Regions from separate parts of the Homo sapiens genome. Here regions 2, 3, 4, 5, 6 and 7 are each linked to region 1. Evidence: promoter capture Hi-C in 16 types of primary human blood cells and fetal thymus (Javierre and others, 2016). All regions are on one chromosome and are shown on one strand. The core of a region is centred on a gene start or on the middle of the fragment in contact, and the rest is flanking DNA. Distances in the headings are between cores, read along the strand shown. Region 1 holds the start of DHX15 (DEAH-box helicase 15). Region 2 overlaps ANAPC4 (anaphase promoting complex subunit 4). Region 3 overlaps ZCCHC4 (zinc finger CCHC-type containing 4). Region 4 overlaps ZCCHC4 (zinc finger CCHC-type containing 4). Region 5 overlaps PI4K2B (phosphatidylinositol 4-kinase type 2 beta). Region 6 overlaps PI4K2B (phosphatidylinositol 4-kinase type 2 beta). Region 7 overlaps SEPSECS-DT (SEPSECS divergent transcript).

The links. The method cuts DNA at HindIII sites, captures the fragments that hold promoters and counts their contacts. A CHiCAGO score of 5 or more calls a contact.
Region 2: a contact is called between a fragment that was not itself captured here and the fragment with the promoter of DHX15 in region 1, in 1 of 17 cell types (total B cells). The highest score is 5.2, in total B cells.
Region 3: a contact is called between a fragment that was not itself captured here and the fragment with the promoter of DHX15 in region 1, in 2 of 17 cell types (total B cells and total CD8 T cells). The highest score is 6.0, in total B cells.
Region 4: a contact is called between a fragment that was not itself captured here and the fragment with the promoter of DHX15 in region 1, in 2 of 17 cell types (non-activated CD4 T cells and neutrophils). The highest score is 6.8, in non-activated CD4 T cells.
Region 5: a contact is called between a fragment that was not itself captured here and the fragment with the promoter of DHX15 in region 1, in 1 of 17 cell types (fetal thymus). The highest score is 5.8, in fetal thymus.
Region 6: a fragment that was not itself captured here is called in contact with the fragment with the promoter of DHX15 in region 1 in 8 of 17 cell types (total B cells, fetal thymus, neutrophils and 5 more); the score reaches 9.0 in total B cells.
Region 7: a contact is called between a fragment that was not itself captured here and the fragment with the promoter of DHX15 in region 1, in 1 of 17 cell types (total B cells). The highest score is 5.0, in total B cells.

The regions. Positions count from the first base shown.
Region 1 is chr4:24,583,203-24,585,847 of GRCh38, reverse strand. It overlaps DHX15 (DEAH-box helicase 15), which reads left to right and starts at 1,294. Exons shown (of 14, transcript NM_001358.3): 1 at 1,294-1,525. The coding sequence starts at 1,455. RefSeq lists an enhancer at 856-1,395 and silencers at 1,576-1,695, 1,706-1,785, 1,986-2,035. The HindIII fragment of the contact is 7,218 bases long and covers 1-2,645 here.
Region 2 is chr4:25,395,122-25,397,766 of GRCh38, reverse strand. ANAPC4 (anaphase promoting complex subunit 4) reads right to left here. Exons shown (of 29, transcript NM_013367.3): 15 at 1,003-1,103; 16 at 868-919. Among named protein-coding and RNA genes, the nearest start is that of ANAPC4, 19 kb to the right of the region's middle. The HindIII fragment of the contact is 3,223 bases long and covers 1-2,645 here.
Region 3 is chr4:25,353,866-25,356,510 of GRCh38, reverse strand. All of the region lies in intron 8 of ZCCHC4 (zinc finger CCHC-type containing 4), which reads right to left. Among named protein-coding and RNA genes, the nearest start is that of ANAPC4, 22 kb to the left of the region's middle. The HindIII fragment of the contact is 2,938 bases long and covers 1-2,645 here.
Region 4 is chr4:25,325,224-25,327,868 of GRCh38, reverse strand. All of the region lies in intron 3 of ZCCHC4 (zinc finger CCHC-type containing 4), which reads right to left. Among named protein-coding and RNA genes, the nearest start is that of ZCCHC4, 14 kb to the right of the region's middle. The HindIII fragment of the contact is 1,024 bases long and covers 812-1,835 here.
Region 5 is chr4:25,268,618-25,271,262 of GRCh38, reverse strand. PI4K2B (phosphatidylinositol 4-kinase type 2 beta) reads right to left here. Exons shown (of 10, transcript NM_018323.4): 9 at 2,060-2,119. Among named protein-coding and RNA genes, the nearest start is that of PI4K2B, 36 kb to the right of the region's middle. The HindIII fragment of the contact is 1,754 bases long and covers 470-2,223 here.
Region 6 is chr4:25,235,857-25,238,501 of GRCh38, reverse strand. All of the region lies in intron 1 of PI4K2B (phosphatidylinositol 4-kinase type 2 beta), which reads right to left. Among named protein-coding and RNA genes, the nearest start is that of PI4K2B, 3.1 kb to the right of the region's middle. The HindIII fragment of the contact is 3,257 bases long and covers 1-2,645 here.
Region 7 is chr4:25,197,792-25,200,436 of GRCh38, reverse strand. SEPSECS-DT (SEPSECS divergent transcript) reads right to left here. Exons shown (of 2, transcript NR_037934.1): 2 at 1,931-2,645. All of the region lies in intron 1 of LOC105374535 (a long non-coding RNA gene), which reads left to right. Among named protein-coding and RNA genes, the nearest start is that of PI4K2B, 35 kb to the left of the region's middle. The HindIII fragment of the contact is 1,244 bases long and covers 688-1,931 here.

The DNA.
Region 1 (2,645 bases), core at 45-2,544:
TCATCAGTTGCAATATTTAAGTTGCATTTAATCCTAGCAATTGCAGTCCTGAGATTTGGATAAGAACCAGAGTATGGTCTTCCAGGGCAGCCAAACCAAGCCATTCCATGAACAACAGAGATCACCCTGCTGCAGATGGTCCACAGATCTTTTCTTGTGCATTTCTTCTGGGAACAAATGCAACTGAGGAAGCAGACATATTCTAGGGGGAGAGATCCACAAAAATCCTTAGAGTCATCTTGCCCCACCTCCTTGTTATGGCTTTAGGTACAGCCCTTATGGCTAGGAGATGTAACCTTCCTCAGCCTTTGCGTCTACGTCTACAAAATAACAACTACCTTGCAGGGTGTTATTTAACACTGCGAAAGTGCATTAATAGGCACAGAAAAACAAAAAACAAAAAAGCAAATTGTGCCCTCACTGCGAATTCTCTGTATTCTAGTTAAAAACATCTATAGCTTGGGTGCATGGTGTCCGTGCTGGGCAAGAAAAGGGCAAAATAGATCATGACAAGCCTTAACATTTTCTCACTTCAGTTTCCTCACTGCAATTGATTTTTTTTTTTCTTTCAAGTCGGAGTCTTGTTCTGTCGTCCAGGCTGGAGTGCACTGGTGTGATCTCGTCTCACCGCAACCTCCGCCTCCCAGGTTCAAGCGATTCTCCTGCCTCAGCCTACCGAGTAGCTGGGATTACAGGCGTACGCCACCACGCCCAGCTAATTTTTGTATTTTTAGTAGAGACGGGGTTTCACCGTGTTGGCCAGGCTGGTCTCGAACTCCTGACCTCGTGATCCACCCGCCTCGGTCTCCCAAAGCGTTGGGATTACAGGCGTGAACCATCGCGCGGCCCCTCACTGCAACTGAGGGTAGCGCAGTGGCCGCAAGTTCCAGATCTGGAGTTACTAAATAGCTGGGTTCCAATCCCGGCTCTGCCACTTATTAGCTGTACGATCTTCATTCGTTTCTCAACCTCTCTGGGTCTGAGATTCCCTTAAAGCCGGGGTAATAGAAATGAATAGGATTTCCTAACTAGGACTAGACTTTCTCAATTTCTTGACTCAGAGGGGCAAGGATAGCCTGAAATGGAAAGTGAAGGCCTTCAGGTTCTTCCTAACAGCCGCTCCGAGGAGGGGAAAGCTACAGGAAGAGGGAGGAGACCCAAGAAAGGTCGGACCAATGAGGCAGCGGGCGGGACAGGAGTTCCCGCCTTTGGGCGTCGTGCGCGCGCACCTCGCTCACACGCACACTCGCACGCACGCACGCTGCGGAAGCGCGCGCGCGCGCAGGCCCAGCCCTCGTCGCCGCCGCCATTTTAGCTGTTGGTTCCGGCCGCACCGTGTGGGCTGTAGTAGCGGGAGGGGTGGGGGTCCTCCAGAGTTAAGTGGCTGTCCTCGACTGTGCCCATACAGCAGCCAGCTTTCTTCCTTAATAACTGCCCGTTCGAAGAGTGCGAGGATGTCCAAGCGGCACCGGTTGGACCTAGGGGAGGATTACCCCTCTGGCAAGAAGCGTGCGGGGACCGATGGGTAAGCCAGGCCGGGGGCGCGAGGCGGCAGCTCGGGCTTTGTTGGGGTCCTGGCAGGGAGCGGGCCGGGGCTGGCCTGGCCGAGCGGGTCCTGGAGCCCGAGCCTTTGTTTCTCTCTGGGCTGGGTTCACTAGCGGCGGGTAGGAGAAGCGCGGCGCCCGTTCGGCCCGGCAAGGGCGCGGGGGGTTGCGTGCGACGGGGCCGCTGCCCAGCCCAGTCCGGAGGGTGGAGAGGCCTGCAGTAGCCATGAGGGCGCCTCCTCCCCCAGGCCGAACCGAGCGGGAGTCATTTGCGAGGGCGTCGGGCGGGAGTGAACCGCGGACCTCGTGGCCTCGGTTCCCGAGGAAGGCCTGGAGCCGGAGGAGAGGGTGGGGGAGGGCGCGGTGGGAGTATTCGCTTCCAAGGGCAGCAGGCACTTCCCAGCCAGAGGGGCCGTGGGGAGGGCCTGGGTGGGGGCGCGGCCAGGCACTCCAGACGGGAAAGGCGGAGGGCGGAAAGTGAGAGCAGCGCGTGGATCATAATGTAGGCTGGGATGGGGGTGGCGGGAGTTGAGAGAAGCCAGCAAATAGGGAGTTCTCGGGGGAGGTGGGAGTAGAGGACCTGCCGGGAGAAAGGAAAACGTGGAGTAATATACCTGATGGGCTGGAAGGCTGGTGTTTTGGGGCGACTGAGTTTATAGTTTGGCGGGAGAGAGCGTGCCTTGGTCCATTCAAACACTTCAAAGTAGATACTAGCAAACTTCCGCTCTCTGCCTACGCTCCCGCCATCTCCTGTATTTCCTGCTTTGGTTAAAACTGGTTACTGAACATCGTCCCATGGGGAGGGATTAGAAGGCATTGTTTTTTTTTTTCATCATTTATTTTCTATGCATGTCCCACTTTTCTTCATAAGTAGCTTTTGAAATACAGGGATCATGTTCAAAACGTGTTTTTAGTATTTATGGCGAAACACCGCCCATGTGGAGGTTGAGAGTTGAAATACTTACACAAACTCTTGGTGTTCCAGATTCCTTTCCTTAAAGGTACAGAGGAATTTAGCAGTTAATTTAAGCAATTTCGTGAAAATCATTTCTTGTCCCTTGTGTGTTTTCATTGATGAAGTACAAAGACCTGTTTGGATAA
Region 2 (2,645 bases), core at 68-2,567, 810 kb before region 1:
TTCAAAACGAAAAAAAAAAAAAACTATAAAGGGCTAAGAATTAGAAGCACCAGACCTTCCATCAGCAACAAAAAGCACAGAATCCTATGGAACTCTGCTTTTGAAGTTCTATGTGAAAACCAATAACCCTCAGGGAATCCTAAAGCCAGCTGTCAATTAAGTGTGAGGGTAGGAGAAAAAACACAAAAGGAGATAAAGTTTACCTTCTATGTCTGCTTTTTGAGAAAGTTACTAGAGGATGTTTTCCAGCAAAATGATTAAATAAGCCAAGAAACAAAGGCAATCCTGGCAGTTCTGGGTCTAACCCAGGAGAGTAATGAAGAAAATGCCCGGGTGGTAGCCGTGCAGGAGAACTGGACCACAGCTGCAGGCTGAAGCAGAGGGGTGGGAGGCTAAGGAAGGCATCTGGAACAGGGGACTCCAGAGGTACTACACCACCCTTCAGAAGGGAAAGGACGGAAGGATGCAGAAAAAACAGACAATGCAAGAAAACAAGCAAGCCTAACAGTCTAAGAAAAACAAAACAAAGAGAATAACTTCTAAAAATTGACAAAAGAAATGTGGCATAGTCATACAATTTAGAAATATGGAGGTAACCCATAGAAGAACTAAAAATAGAAGTAGTTAAAGAGTTAAAATGATTCCCTCTGGCGAGAAGACCTGAGGTAAGGATGACCAGGACAGGAAAATACAGCTTTACTTTATAAATTCTCTGTGCTGCTGGCTTTTCGGAACCATATAAAGGCATAATTGTGATAAAAATTTAAAAACTGATTTTAAGAGAATCATAACAGCTTACTAGGTTCTTATTTAGGTCAAAAGTGACATATTCTTAGGTCAGTGATTCCAGGTACTCCCAATACTTACTGAAGAAGTTCATTTGCCTTGAGTATAAAAGAACCCACAGCAGTTATAGCTTCTAAAGGGAAAAAATAAATAAACGTCATTTGTCAAATAAGTAAACTGTGTTTAATGTATTTCACTGAGAAATTAAATCACTACCTTCGATTCCTGCAGCATCTAGTCCAAGAGGTTCATATTTTTGCTTCCATGAAGCCATTCCTTTCAATTCACTCAAATGGTATAATAAAGACTCCGAGCCACTATCCAAACAGAGCAGAAATAAATTAGTATCATGACGATCATCAAGTGACTAACTTGCCTGAATATTTCTAAATTTTCAGAAATAAAAACTGAAAGTAACTTTCATTTTGTTTCCATGAGAAATAATTATTTCTCAAAACTGTTCCTAAAAACTGCAGCAGAACCATCTGGTCAATGTGACTACAGAGATAAACAAATGACAAGATCAAATTTTGTAAGATGATCAAATTGTGTTCCACAGTTAGTCCTGACCCTTTTAAGACAGTTGTACAGCCATCTTGTTCACCCAACTACTACACAGTCAATGTTCAATAAATATTTCTTAAGTTCCCATTTTGGGTCAGGTACCGTGCTATATACTGGGGACATAACGGTGAACACAATCAAAGGGTCTCATGGCATTGACAGTATAACAGGGAAGACAGTCATGATCGCATAGTCATACAGTGTACCATTCCAACTACTATAAATGCCTTGAAGGAAACACATGGGGTGCAGGTATAACAGAAGAACCTGAGCTAATCTGGGATTCAGAAAGGCTTTTCTGAAGGAATGAATGAGCTGAGAGCTGAAGAATGCATGTGAAGAACAAGTTGGGACAAGAGGAATATGCAAAAGCCCTAGGCAGGAGACAAAATGTCAAGTTGGAGAAACTAAATGGCCATCAGTGTGGGCGAGGCAGAGAGGCAGGTATGCTAAAGGCCACACAAAGGTCTCCATTCTAACGGAAGGCATTAGAAGTTTTTAAGAGAGAAATATGTTTAGCTCTACTGGGGAAAATACATTCAAAGGACAGTGTGTACTGAAAGAGCCCAACTAGTCCAGAGGGTGCTACAGTGGTCCAAGGGAGGGGTGATGTAGTTAGGGCCAGGGACTCAGCATAAAGGAATATACCAAAATTTAAACCAAACACCACCAGGTGTGGTGGCTCATGCCTGTAATCCCAGCACTTTGGGAGGCCGAGGCAGGTGGATCACTTGCGGTCAGGAGCTTGAGGCCAGTCTGGCCAACACGGTGAAACCCCGTCTCTACTAAAAATACAAAAATTAGCCAGGCGTAGTGGTTTGCGCCTGTAATCCCAGCTACTTGAGAGGCTGAGGCAGGAGAATCGCTTGAACCCGGGAGGCGGAGGTTGCAGTGAGCCGAGATCACATCACTGCACTCCAGCCTCGGCAAGACTCCATCTCGAAAAAACAAAAAACCAAAAATCAAACAAAATAAATCAAACGCCCAGCATCCACTTGTAAAATGCTTCAATGAAGTAGCTATGGATAGAAAAAGCATGAGATTTGAAAATCTAGGATGAAGTCTTGGCTCCGACACTTAGTAACTTTGGGCCAGCCATATAACTGATTCTGAACTTCTGTATCCTCTTGTGTAAAATCACCAACACCTTGCCAAGATATTAAATAAATAAATATACAATATTCTTGGTAAACTGTAAAATGTTAATCTCACTGCTCAAAAAAAAGATATATGCCTTATTTCAAAATATACTTCATGCTTAGCTGATTAAGAAAAAAACCCAGATAGAGTCTAGC
Region 3 (2,645 bases), core at 76-2,575, 770 kb before region 1:
CAGGAAGGTGGTTGATTGCTTGACTTTGCATAACCTAATTGAGATTATTATTATTTTTAAATGCGGGTTTGTTGTGCTAATTAACTATAAACATATGGTATGTAAAATGCATGCTGCTAGAGTAAATTAATGTACCTCTAACATATATCCATATTTCATAGCTTCAGCCACACAAATAAACCTCCTATGGAAGTGCTGTAAAGCAAACACAATTTTGCAAATTGCCTATCACTAGTAGTAGAGCTGATACACCATTTTCCCATCATTATCCCTGACATTTCACTCACAATGATGATGAGAGGCATTTTCAAATAGAAAATTTCTCCCATGGAACTGATTTAATGTGATGAAGTACTGTATAGAAATGAGGGAAAGCACAAAATCTCTGCAATTTCCAATTTTTAATTTTATCTATACGCAAATGTCTTCTGTAACATGAGACTGAAACTAGTTAAATGGAGACCGAGACGTCCATGTCAACATTTATTTTGTGCCTACTATGTTCCAGGTATCAGGCCAGGAAAGAAAGATTAAATAAGACAGAGTACTTGCATTTCTGTAACTCCCTAAGGATTGTGTTCTATTGGATTTCAGCACACACACAAAGTCCCCAGTACCTTCTTCTGCTCCAGCAACCAGCTTCTACCACAGCAGCAAAGTCTATCATAATACCCATATCCCATAAGCTCTCATTTGAAATTGACATGCGGACATCTTATACCCCTTTTTACTTCAAACCCACTACATGTTTTATGTTTATTACAGATTAAATTTTAAGAATTTTGGTAGCCATCTTTTAATTTGCAATAATTTTCCAGAAATTGCTGCCAAAATATCTTCATTTCTGACTGTGAAACTAATCTTGAAAAACATACTGTCCTAACAGGCTGATGTTTAAAAAGGATAGCTTTGACAAAAGCAAAGAGCTATATTTTTAACACCCCAAACAAGTGTCCCATATTAAGTACATACAAGAGAGAGCAGAACATCTCAGGTGGAAAGGAGGTGAGATCATCTAATTCAGACACAGAAAATTCAGGACATGAACACCACCACTCCCTGACCCCACCCCCATGGTGGACACCACTAATCACATTACTCTTTGCTACCAAGCCTGGTATTCTCAACAAATTCTCCAGAAAATCACTAGCAATTTATCAGGCTTAGTACCAAAAGAGAAACTTATCTACCATCTCTTTTCTGATTCAATCATTTTATTTTATAGGTAAGGAAACAGAACCTGGAGAGATAAAGTGACTTCTCCCAAGATTAAGTGGTCTCTAAAAGGCAGTGCCAGGACTCAGACTTCTGACTTGAAATCAGAGTTTCTTTTCATCATCACATCCTTCCTTTCTAATCTGTTGTTAATAAAACTCTTGGTTTTCTAGGTCTTTGATGACTGTTTTATTCTGTATTCATCAAGTGCTTGATCACTGAAGAGTCTACATAATTTATGTTTTATGAAGATTTGCAGCATTTCTGCCTTCCTCTTACCTGGGAAGTATTTCCAAAGAAGGGATTTAGTGATTTGGGGTTTTTTACTGCATTGTGGTTTGGGGGCTTATAATCATCTCAGGTGATGTCCAAAAAAAAAAAAAAAAAAAAGGCCTAATCAAGGTCTATGGGAAAAGATCTGTGAAGGAGAGGGGACTCAAAGTTTTCATTCAATGAAGGCTAATATACAAGAAAAAAAAGTACCACAAAATGAAGTTAGGCCAGGCATGGTGGCTCACACCTGTAATCTCAGCACTTTGGGAGGCTGAGGTGAGAGGCTCGCTTCAGCCCAGGAGTTCGAGACCAGCCTGGGCAACACAGAGAGATCCCATCACTATTTAAAAAAAAAATTTTAATGAAGTTAAAGTAACAAAAGAAAAAGAGGAAAGCAAAATGCTCAGAAAGGAATAATAGGTCCAGAGAAATTTTCAAAAAATAGAAAAATTGTCCAAGAACGTAATCAAATAATGTTTATAAATACATGAGGAGATACGGCACAGTTTCTCCAACATGAGCATGTAATGGACAGTACTGTTCTTCCCTTTAGCAGGAATTAGGAAAAACAAATTTGCTTTTAGACTTTGTTCTCATTTTTTTTCCCAAAGGTTGGCTTTCTCTTTATTGAGAAGACTGCTTTTTAGCCTGTCAGACACATATGACCTAATCAGAACCTTTCTTCATCAATACACTGAAGTGCATAATTATTGTCCACACTTGGACCTTGCAACTATTTCTCAAAACTGTAACCCTAATATTTCCAAAAGTTCTTTCCTAGTAACACAGACTGCCTAACAAGTGACAGCTGGTTACTCCAAAATTGCCTCTCTCATCTGCTGTATTCTGGATCTGTCTTCTTTTGTCCTCTCACCATTTCAAACTCTTGCCCATAGTGAAAAAAGAAAAACTCCTCTCTAAATATGGATGTAACAGTTTTCTAAGGGCACGAATTATTAGGTTGGTGCAAAAGTAATTGCGGTTTTTGCCATTAAAAGGAATGAATGAATTAAAATGAATGGCAAAAACTGTAATTACTTTTGCCCCAATTTATACAATTATGCAATTTTAATCTCTCAGATTTATCAAAAAAGGACCTGAGGGAGAGTTTTACCCCTACCTTGGGACTATCTGAATGATGACAATGACAGTGATGG
Region 4 (2,645 bases), core at 74-2,573, 740 kb before region 1:
CTTTTTTGAAAAAAAGATAATTTCATTAGGTGCCCCCCAAAAACGCACTTGACAAAATCAAACATCCACTGATGATAAAGATTCTCAGGCTGGGTATGGTGGCTCATGCCTCTAATCCCAGCACTCTAGGAAGCCTGAGGCAGGAGGACGGCTTGAGCCCAGGAGTTTGAGACCTGCCTGGGCAACACAGTAAGATCCTCATCTCTTCAAAAAGTAAAAAAATTAGCTGGGTGTGGTAGTACACACCTATAGTCCCAGCTACTGGGGAGGCTGAGGTGGGAGGATCACTTGAACCAAGGAGGTAGAGTCTACAGTGAGCCATGATCGTCCCACTGCCCTCCAATCTGGGTGACAGAGCAAGACAGAGAAAAAGAAAGAAAAGAAAGGAAGGAAGGGTGGTGGGGGACGAAGCAAGTAAGGAAGGAACGGAAGGAAGGAGGGAAGGAGGGAAGGAGGGAAGGAGGGAAGGAGGGAGGGAGGGAGGGAGGGAGATTCTCAAAAAACCAGAAATAGAAGGGCACTTCTACAATCTGATAAAGGGCATCAAAGAAAAACCTATTGCTAACACCATACAGCTGAAAGACTGAATGCATTTCCCCAAGACTGGGACAAAGCAAAGATGTCTGCTCTCAGCCTTCTACTCGACATTGACTAAGGGTTTCTAGCCAGTTTGATAAGACAAGATAAAAAAACAAAAGACATAAATTGGAAAGTAAACATTAAAACTTCTTTATTCACAGACAACATGATCACACATGTACAAAATCCTAAGGAAATCTTCAAAAAGCCTGCTAGAACTAGTAAGTAAGCTTATCAAGATTTCAAAATAAAAGATCAATATATAAAATCAACTGTATTGTTAGAGTCTAGCAATAGACAATTAGAAACTGAAATTTTAAAACAATACAATTTAAAACCACATTAAAATACATGAAATACTTCGTGATAAATCTGACAAAAGATGTGTAACTGCAGTGCACTGAAAATTACAAAACATCACCAAGAAAAATTAAAGATGACTTAGTAACTGAAGAGATACACCACAGTCACAGACTAGAAAACTCAATACTATTAAGATGTCAATTCTCCCCAAATGTATCTATAAAATCAACACACTCTCAATCAAAATCCCAGCAGGATTTTTTGTAGAAACTGAAAACCTCATTCAAAAAATTCATATGAAAATAAAAAGGACCTATAATAGCGGAAACAACTTTGAAAATAATGGACAAAGAAGACTTACACTACCCAATTTCAAGAAGACATTATAAAGTCACAGTAATCAAGACAATGTGGTATTTATGTAAAGATATACCTATAGGTCAAGGGAAAAAAATAGTCCAGAAAAAAAAACACATATAAAGTTAACTGACTTTTGAGAAAGGTGCTGCAGTAGGCTGAATGATGCCCCCTCACTCCCCACATCCTACCAAAGAGAATATGGAACCTGTGAATACACATATAGGACCAAAGAGAATTTACAGATGTCATGAAGTGACGGATCTTAAGATGAGGAGGTTATCCTGGGTCATCTGGGTAGACTCAACATAATTACAAGGGTTCTTATAAGCCAGAGGCAGTGGAGTGAGGGAGAAGATTATGTGGTGACAGAAGCAGAGACTGGAGTGATGTGCTATAAAAACGGAGCACGGGCCACAGCCAAAGATGCAGGTGGTCCCAGACGCTGGAAAAAGCAAGAAACAAATTCTCTTCTCAGAGTCTTCAGAAGGAACTAGCCCCACCAACAGCTTAACTTTAACCTGCTTTAGTTGATTTTGGATGTTGGGCCTCCATTACTGGAAGAATAAATCTATGTCGTTGTATACCACTAAGCTTGTGGTAAGTTGCTCCAGCAGCAACAGGAAAACTAATGCAGGTGCCAAATCAATTCAACAAGGAAAGGATAATATTATCAACAAATGGTGCTGGAAAAGTATTTTTTTTTCTCTCTAATCCCACAGCAGATAAGGTGCTGGAAAAGTCTGAAAGCCATATGCAAAGCAATGAACCTTGACTCTTACCTCACTTCATATAAAAAAACTAACCCCGAATAGATCATAGACCTAACTCTAGGAACTAAAACTAGAAAACTTTAAAGAAAACATATTAGAAAATAATAATGACTGGGTTTGGCAAAGATTTCTTAAATAAGACTAAGCACAAAGTGTAAGAATCAATAAAATGAACTTCGTCATGACTTAACATTTTTTTCTTCAAAAGATACTCTTAAGTGACAAAAAATAAATTGAACTTAATAAAAAATTTTAAACTTTTGCACAGCAAAGGATACCATTAAGAAAGTGAAAAGACAGCACAGTGGCTCACGCCTATAATCCCAGTACTTTGGGAGGCTGAGGCAGGCAGAGCCCTTGAAGTCAGGAGTTCGAGATCAGCCTGGCCAACATGGTGAAACACCATCTCTACTAAAAAAAAATTAGCCGGGTGTGGTGGCACACGCCTGTAATCCCAGCCACTCAGGAGGCTGAGGCACGAGAATCACTTGAACTCAGGAGACAGAGGTTGCAGTGAGCCGAGATGGCACCACTGCCAAAAAAAAAAAAAAGAGAGAGTGAAAAGACGACCCAAGAATGGCAGAAAATATTTCTTTTTTTTTTTTTTTTTTTTTTGAGACGGAGTCTCCCTGT
Region 5 (2,645 bases), core at 97-2,596, 690 kb before region 1:
CTAACTGCTCCAATCCTTTCCTTGTGGAATCTACAGTCTGGTGTTTAAGGCCCTCTATACTCTGGCTCCATTCTATTTCTCGAGCCTTCACTTAACTACTTAAAACTCATGACTGCATTAAGCACTGCATAAATGTGATGGAGCAGAGAGATGCGTGAGCTAATAATCTAAAATCACCTGTCCCTTTTCACCGAGCCCTGGCCTTCTCTGCAGAGCAAAACTCCATGACAGCAGAAGCTTGGTTTTGCTTACTGCTTTATCTCCAGTGACTAGTTGCCAGCACTAGTTCTGTCAATAAACATTTGGTGAATGAATGAATGATTCTCTGTGTAATTATATGGACTTGTACTTCTTTGCTACAGGTATTGTGGCAAACAGCTACCTTAAATGTATATTTTAGGAAGAGAATGTTAATTTATAAGACGCTAAAAGACAATGTTTACAGTATAATTTATTTATATTTCAAGCTTTCCTTTTGGAATAGAAATACCATTCATAGAGTCCAAGAAGCAGAAGTCATCTAACAGTGAGCCCAGCCTGCAGTGAGCCCAGCCTGCAGATCCACATCAGCAGACTTAATGCCTTGTACTTCTAACCTTTAACTAAAGGTGAGGAGGGGCTGGGCACGGTGGCACACACCTGTAATCCTAGCACTTTGGGAGGCCAAGGCGGCTGGATCACAAGGTCAGGAGTTCAAGACCAGCCTGGCCGACATGGTGAAATCCCATCTCTACTAAAGATACAAAAAAATTAGCTGGGTGTGGTGATGCACACCTGTAATCCCAACTACTTGGGAGGCTGAGGCAGGAGAATCGCTTGAACCTGGGAGACAGAGGTTGAAGTGAGCTGAGATCGCACCATTGCACTCCAGCCTGGGCGACAGGGCAAGAGTCTGTCTCAAAAAAAGAAAAGAAAAAAAGAAAAAAAACCAAAAAAACAAGAGGAAAGGGGGGTCAGGGAGAGGACTGAGTTACAATTAGTTTTTTCATGTCACAATTGATACTCAATCTTGGTGACATGGTTATTTAGTGACTGCTCTAGCAAAAGCCACATTCCGCGAAAAAAGAAAAAAAGTAATCTATTGACAACAGAACTTGGTACTGAAATGTCTAAGTGAGTGAATCTGAGAGGGAAAAAGGTAGTGATGCCCAAGAAAATAGCTATCAAAATGGGGACAAACAATTCATAGCAGGGGAAACACTGAGCTAAATAAACAGTATACAACAAGGTCAAAAATACCTAAGTTAGGCTGGGCGCGGTGGCTCACGCCTGTGATGCCAGCACTTTGGGAGGCTGAGGCGGGCAGATCACGAGGTCAGGAGATCGAGACCATCCTGGCTAACATGGTGAAACCCCGTCTCTACTAAAAATATAGAAAAAAATCAGCCGGGTGTGGTGGTGGGCGCCTGTAGTCCCAGCTACTCGGGAGGCTGAGGCAGGAGAATGGCATGAACCTGGGAGGCGGAGCTTGCAGTGAGCCGAGATCGTTCCACTGCACTCCAGCCTGGGCTACAGAGCGAGACTCTGTCTCAAAAAAAACAAAAACAAAAAAAACCCACCTAATTTATAAGATAATAGAGGGAAGAAACTATTTGAATCAACTTCATTTCTTTTTTTTTTTTTGAGATGGAGTTTTGCTCTTGTTGCTCAGGCTGGAGTGCAGTGGCGTGATCTCAGCTCACTGCAACCTCTGCCTCCCGAGTTCAAGCGATTCTCCTGCTGCAGCCTCCCAAGTAGCTGTGATTACAGGTGCCCGCCACCACACCCAGCTAATTTTTTTGTATTTTTAGTAGAGATGGGGTTTCACCATGTTGGCCAGGCTGGTCTCGAACTCCTGACCTCAGGTGATTCACCCGCCTTGGCCTCCCAAAGCACTGGGATTACAGGCGTGAGCCACTGCAGTCGGCCGAATCAACTTCATTTCTAATAATCTGGGCTATTTTGGTTCAGCATAAGAGGTAGTATTAAAAATTCCATCTCCAGATCACAGTGGGGAAAACAGTTGACTACTGTTTCAAAGAGATTTTTTTCCTTATGAACAAATAAAAAGGTAACTTACCTGACCCCTCATCACAGACATCTGACTTTCAAAAGTGGCTTTGTCAAATCCTTTGTCAGTCTATTATAGAAAGGAAAAAAACAATTCCCAAAATAAAGACTTTGATATAAATATTTGAAAACAGATGAACTCTTCAACTCAGCAAATAAGGCCATTAAAAAGCTTTCCTAATTGATAAAATAAAACAAAAATAGTATTTTTACCTGAGGTATTTTTGTATACTCCCAGAATGACACGAATAGACTTATTTATTTGGACCTGAACTTGTTCCAGAAAGGATTTAACATGACTTTCCAGCCAATGAATTTAGGCTTTTTAAGAGAACTAAAACATAGCAGGTCACCAAATATGTATTATAATTTATAGAGTCTTCTTGTAAAAATTCAACTTTTGAAGAAAACAGCAAATTAAGTTTTAATGTAGTCTCACTTCAAAGAATGCTCACAGTAAGTATAGCTTTATGAATCTATGCTCCTGTAAATAAAACTGCTAATTCCTCTCTGTCCTGTCAGGTTTTATGGCAAGCAGCAATACAAGAAATAGAAAATTGCAAATCAGCTCTATTAAGCAGTCTCTTCTATTTTAA
Region 6 (2,645 bases), core at 71-2,570, 650 kb before region 1:
CTAACCGCGAGGGTCCATGGCTTCATTCTTGAAGTCAGTGAGACCAAGAACCCACCAATTCCGGACACAATAGCACCAGTAGTTAAAACCATTTCTGCTGAAATGGACTTTAGGGAAGTTATAAGAACTACCTTTATGAAATTAATCACTTTAATCACAGATATTGTTCAGCATACAGCATTCACCAAGAGACTGTGACAGGCTACCCTTTGTCTGTTCTGTTTTGGTTCAAATAACCAGTTTATTTTAACTGTATAGACCACATGATTGTGTTTCTCTCAAGTTAGCTGCTCAGTAATTTCAAAAATCAAATCTGTGGGTTGCCTGCATCAAGCATCTGAGGTACATCTTGTGTAATCTTACTCCAGGCTCCATCTTCTCATCTTTCTTCCTTTTAAATGATTTTCTTATTCTGTTCACATATTTATAAACCACCATGAATCATTAAATGACTTACAAATTCACATTTTCTTTTACTTTGGCAGCTCTTTGTGAATTCTAACACTGTTTTCTAACTGTTAGGCTCTCTAACAGGAGCTAAGCGCTCCTGATTTGTATTAACTGGGACCTTGGAGAAGTCACTTCACTTCTTTGTGCTTTTTCTTTTTTTCTTTTGAGACAGGGTCTTTTTCTGTAACCCAGGCTGGAGTATAGTGGTGCAATTATAGCTCACTGGACTCAGTGTAACCTGAAACTCATGGACTCAAGCAATCCTCCTGCCTCGGTCTCCTGAGTAGCTTGGACTACAGGTGTGCACCAAAGAGGCCTCCCAAAGTGTTAGGATTACAGGCGTAAGCCACCATGCCCAGCCTCTCCCTATACTTTCTTAAAATGAGAACAAGGCCAGGCATGGTGGCCTTGTAATCTCAGTGCTCTGGGAAGCCGAGGCGGGAGGATCATCTGAGGTCAGGAGTTCGAGACCAGCCTGACCAACATGGTGAAACCCCGTTTCTACTAAAAATACAAAATTAGCCAGGCATGTGCCTGTAATCCCAGCTACTTGGGAGGGTGAGGCAGGAGAATCGCTTGAACCTGGGGAGTGGAGGTTGCAGTTAGCCGAGATTACGCCATTACAATCCAGCCTGGGTGACAGGAATGAAACTCTGTTCCCCCACTGCCACCCCTACAGCCACCCACTGCCAAAAACAAAAAAAAAAAACAAAAATAGTACTCACATCACAGGGTTGGTTATGAATTAATATATATGAAGCATACAGAACTATGCCTAGCGCATATTAACTGCTATGTAGGCATTAGCTGTCATTACTACCGAATTCACTGATTAAAATAACTAGAACAAGGAATGCACTAATCCTTCCACTTTGACACTGATCCAACAACACTATGGTTTATGCTGTTTGTAGGCTTTGTTAAATGCCTTGTTGAAGATAACAGACATATGACATTCTTCCACTGGCTAAAGTACATAAACCTCTTGCTTATATAAGTAAGAGTTAAGCATCATAAATGATGTTCATATTAATCTAAAGGCAAGAATTTCTTGGAACTAGTGAGGTAGTTTCATGGAAATCGGATGGTAAAGGACAAATGAAGTTAATGGAGTCATTTAAAAAATAACTAAACTTAAAAAGTATTAAATTACTCAATCATGAACATTTTAGTCTTTAAAAATTTTTTAAACAGTTTTCACAGAAACTATTTTAAAGTCCTATTAAAGGTAAAAACCTCCAAAATAACCACAGACACAATTATTTTATAACACTTGTGGACCCATGGCAAAACGGAAAAGGGGCAGAAGATGAAGAAAGAACCAGGCTTCCTCCTGATTTATTACTTCCTGGATATTTGACTTCGGGCAAACCATTTACCTCTGAAGACCTGAGCTACCAGTCATTACCAGTTTATTAATTCTGAATCCTCATAATGAGAATAATGGCGAATAACAACTAACTTGCTGTGCTGTTGTGAAAATAATTAATTTTTTTTTTGAGACAAAGTCTCACTCTGTCACCCAGGCTGGAGTGCAGTGGAGCCATCTCTGCTCACTGCAACCTACACCTCTCGGGTTCAGAAGCGATTCTCCTGCCTCAGCCTCCCAAGTAGCTGGAATTGCAGGCGCCCGCCACCATGCCTGGCTAATTTTTCTATTTTTAGTAGAGGCAGGGTTTCACCATGTTGGCCAGGCTGGTCTGAAAACTCCTGACCTCAAATGATCCACCCACCTAGGCCTTCCAAAATGCTGGGATTACAGGCATGAGCCATGGCACCCAACAGAGAATAAAATTTATTTATTTATTTATTTATTTATTTATTTATTTATTTATTTATTTATTTTTGAGACAGAGTCTTGCTCTGTCTCAAGACAGAACCAGGCTGGAGTGCAGTGGAGAATAAAATATTTTTTTAAAAAAGATCTTAGCAAATTGTAAACTGTGATACAGGTAAGATATTACCTTTAAAAAAGGTAGGAATTCTAAGAATCCATTTGTATTCTAACACTATACTCTATCCTCACTTTGAATTTTTGTTGTTGTTGTTGTTTATTTTTTATAGAGATGGGGATCTCGCTATGTTGCCCAGGTGGGTCTCGAACTTCCAGCCTCAAGCTATTCTCCTGCCTAGACCTCCCAAAATGCTGGGATGGGATTACAGGCCTGCCATCTCGTTGACCTCTCGCTTTGATT
Region 7 (2,645 bases), core at 60-2,559, 610 kb before region 1:
CTCTTTTTTGGTTCCATATGAATTTTAGAATTGTTTTCTCTAATTCTGTGAAGAATGATGGTGGTATTTTGATGGGAATTGTGTTGAATTTGTAGATTGCTTTTAGCAGTATGGTCATTTTCACAATATTGATTCTACCTATCCATGAGCTCCTCCTCAACATAGTATTGGAAGTCCTGGCCTGAGCAATCAGACAAGAGAATGAAATACAGGGCATCCAAATTGGTAAAGAAGAAGTCAAACTGTCGCTGTTTGCTGATGATATGATTGTTTACCTAGAAAACCCTAAGGACTCCTCCAGAAAGCTCCTATAACTGATAAAAGAATTCAGGAAAGTTTTCTGGATACAAAATTAATATACACAAATCAGTAGCTCTTCTATACACCAACAGCGACCAAACTGAGAATCAAATCAATAATGCAACCCCTTTTACGATAGCTGCAAAAAAAAAGATACTTAGGAATATACCTAACCAAGGAGGTGAAAGACCTCTACAAGGAAAAGCTACAAAACACAGCTGAAAAAAATCACAGACAACACATACTAATGGTCTTTACATACAAACACTTTCTGGCCTTTCCTTTCTCTGTGCATAAGTTTAAAAAGCTTTGTTTTTCGTGGTTGTATTCTTAAAGTACATGCAACTTTTATTCAGTTTTACCTCAGTGAAAATTATATCATAAGCTTTCTTAAGTATGACTTTTAATGGCTGCTTAATATCCTATTGAATATATGTATTTTAATTTGCTTAATTATGTACTGTTGAATAATTAGTTTTTTTCTAGCTTTTTACTATTATAAAACCTGCAGTAACTGTCTTGCACATACAGCCTTTTCTGTTCTATTTAGGCAAATTCTTTCTTTCTTTCTTTTTTTTGAATAGAGAAAGGGTTCTCACTATGTTGTCCAAGTTGGTCTTGAACTCTTGGCCTCAGATGATTCTCCCACCTTGGCCTCCCAAAGTGCTGGAATTACAGGAGTGAGCCACCGTGCCTGGCCTCTTTCCACAATTTCTCTAGATATAGCCACACTCCGGGAGAGCATTCCTGGGTTGCGTTAATGATTCTTTCCATGACCCTGGGAAGTTGGCTATGCAGGAAGTTGGCTAACACAGAGGAAGGAGCATGGGTTTTGAGGGTCAGACAAACTTATATTCAAATCCTAGCTTTGGCCGAGTGTGATGGCTCACACCTGTAATCCCAGCACTTGGGAAGGCTGAGACAGGTGGATCACTTGAGGTCAAGAGTTCAAGACCAGCTTGGCCAACATGTGAAACCCTATCTCTACCAAAAATACAAAAATTAACTGGGTGTGGTGGTTGCACACCTGAAATCCCAGCTACCTGGGAGGCTGAGGCATGAGAATCGCTTGAAGCTGGGAGGCGAAGGTTGCAGTGAGCTGAAATCACACCACTGCACTCCAGCCTGGGTGACAGAGCAAGACTCTGTCTCAAAAAAGAAAAAAAAAATCCTAACTTTGCCATTGATTAGCTGTGTGACTTTGGAAAATAACTTAACCTCTCTGACTCTCATATTGTGCATTTGTGATACAGAGATAATAATGCCTACTTAATGGTGCTACTATATTATGAAGATTATTTTGTAAAGCACTTATGGAGATAACTTCCCTGAATTAACACAGAGTAAAAGATATTTCCTGTACTTCCTTGAAAACAACAATGTTGTGGGGACCTTTAAAAAAATTGAAGTGTGGCTTATATACTGTAAGGTGCACATGTTTTAAACACATAACTTGACGATTTTTAAGCATATGTCTAAACCCAAGTAACTACAATTCAGATCAAGAAATAGAACATTTTCATCACCCAGAAGATTCCCTTATGCCTCCCACTTCCCCATCAGTAACCATTTTCCTTCTCAGAGGTAAGTGCTGATGTCTACCAAAATGGATTAGTTTTTTGTCTTAAGCTTTATTATTTTTTCTTTTATTTCTTTAAATAAAGTCTCTTATAAATTTATTTCCCCAACAATTTTGTCATTAGGATAGCATTGGCTTTCACCTAGATAACAAGATTTTTCAGCACAAATATAAAGTTTTCTGTAAGTAGCATCCAGTAGTTAGTCCTACGCTGAATCCAAAACCTCTTATTTTGCATGTCATTCTTTCCCAGTCTTCAGTTGCACAGCGGAAGAGGAAAAGGGTGGAAGAGCAGAGGAAGAGAGGGTGCTATTTTATCAGGGACAATGAGAATTCAACATGGCTGGGGAGGCCTCAGGAAACTTACAATCATGGCAGAAGGCGAAGGGGAAGAAAGGCACCTTCTTCACAAGGCTGCAGGAGGGAGAATCATCTTAACCTTTATTTAAAGGAATCAGACAGTATATACTTTTGTGTTTCTGGTATCTTTTGCTCAATAATTATGTCTGTAAGATTTATCCATGCTGTTGTGAGTTTTAATAGTTTGTCCTTTTATATTGTGTCATATTTCAAGCTCTGAACATCCCAACATTTGTTTATCTTTCTGCTATTGATGGACATTTGAGCTGTTTCCAGTTTGGATCTATTATGAACACTTTGGCACATATCTCTAGTGGACACAGAACACTCATTTTTTTTGGTATATATACCTAGGAGTAAAATTGCTGGGTCATGGGGTAGGTGAATATTTAGCTTTGGTAGATAT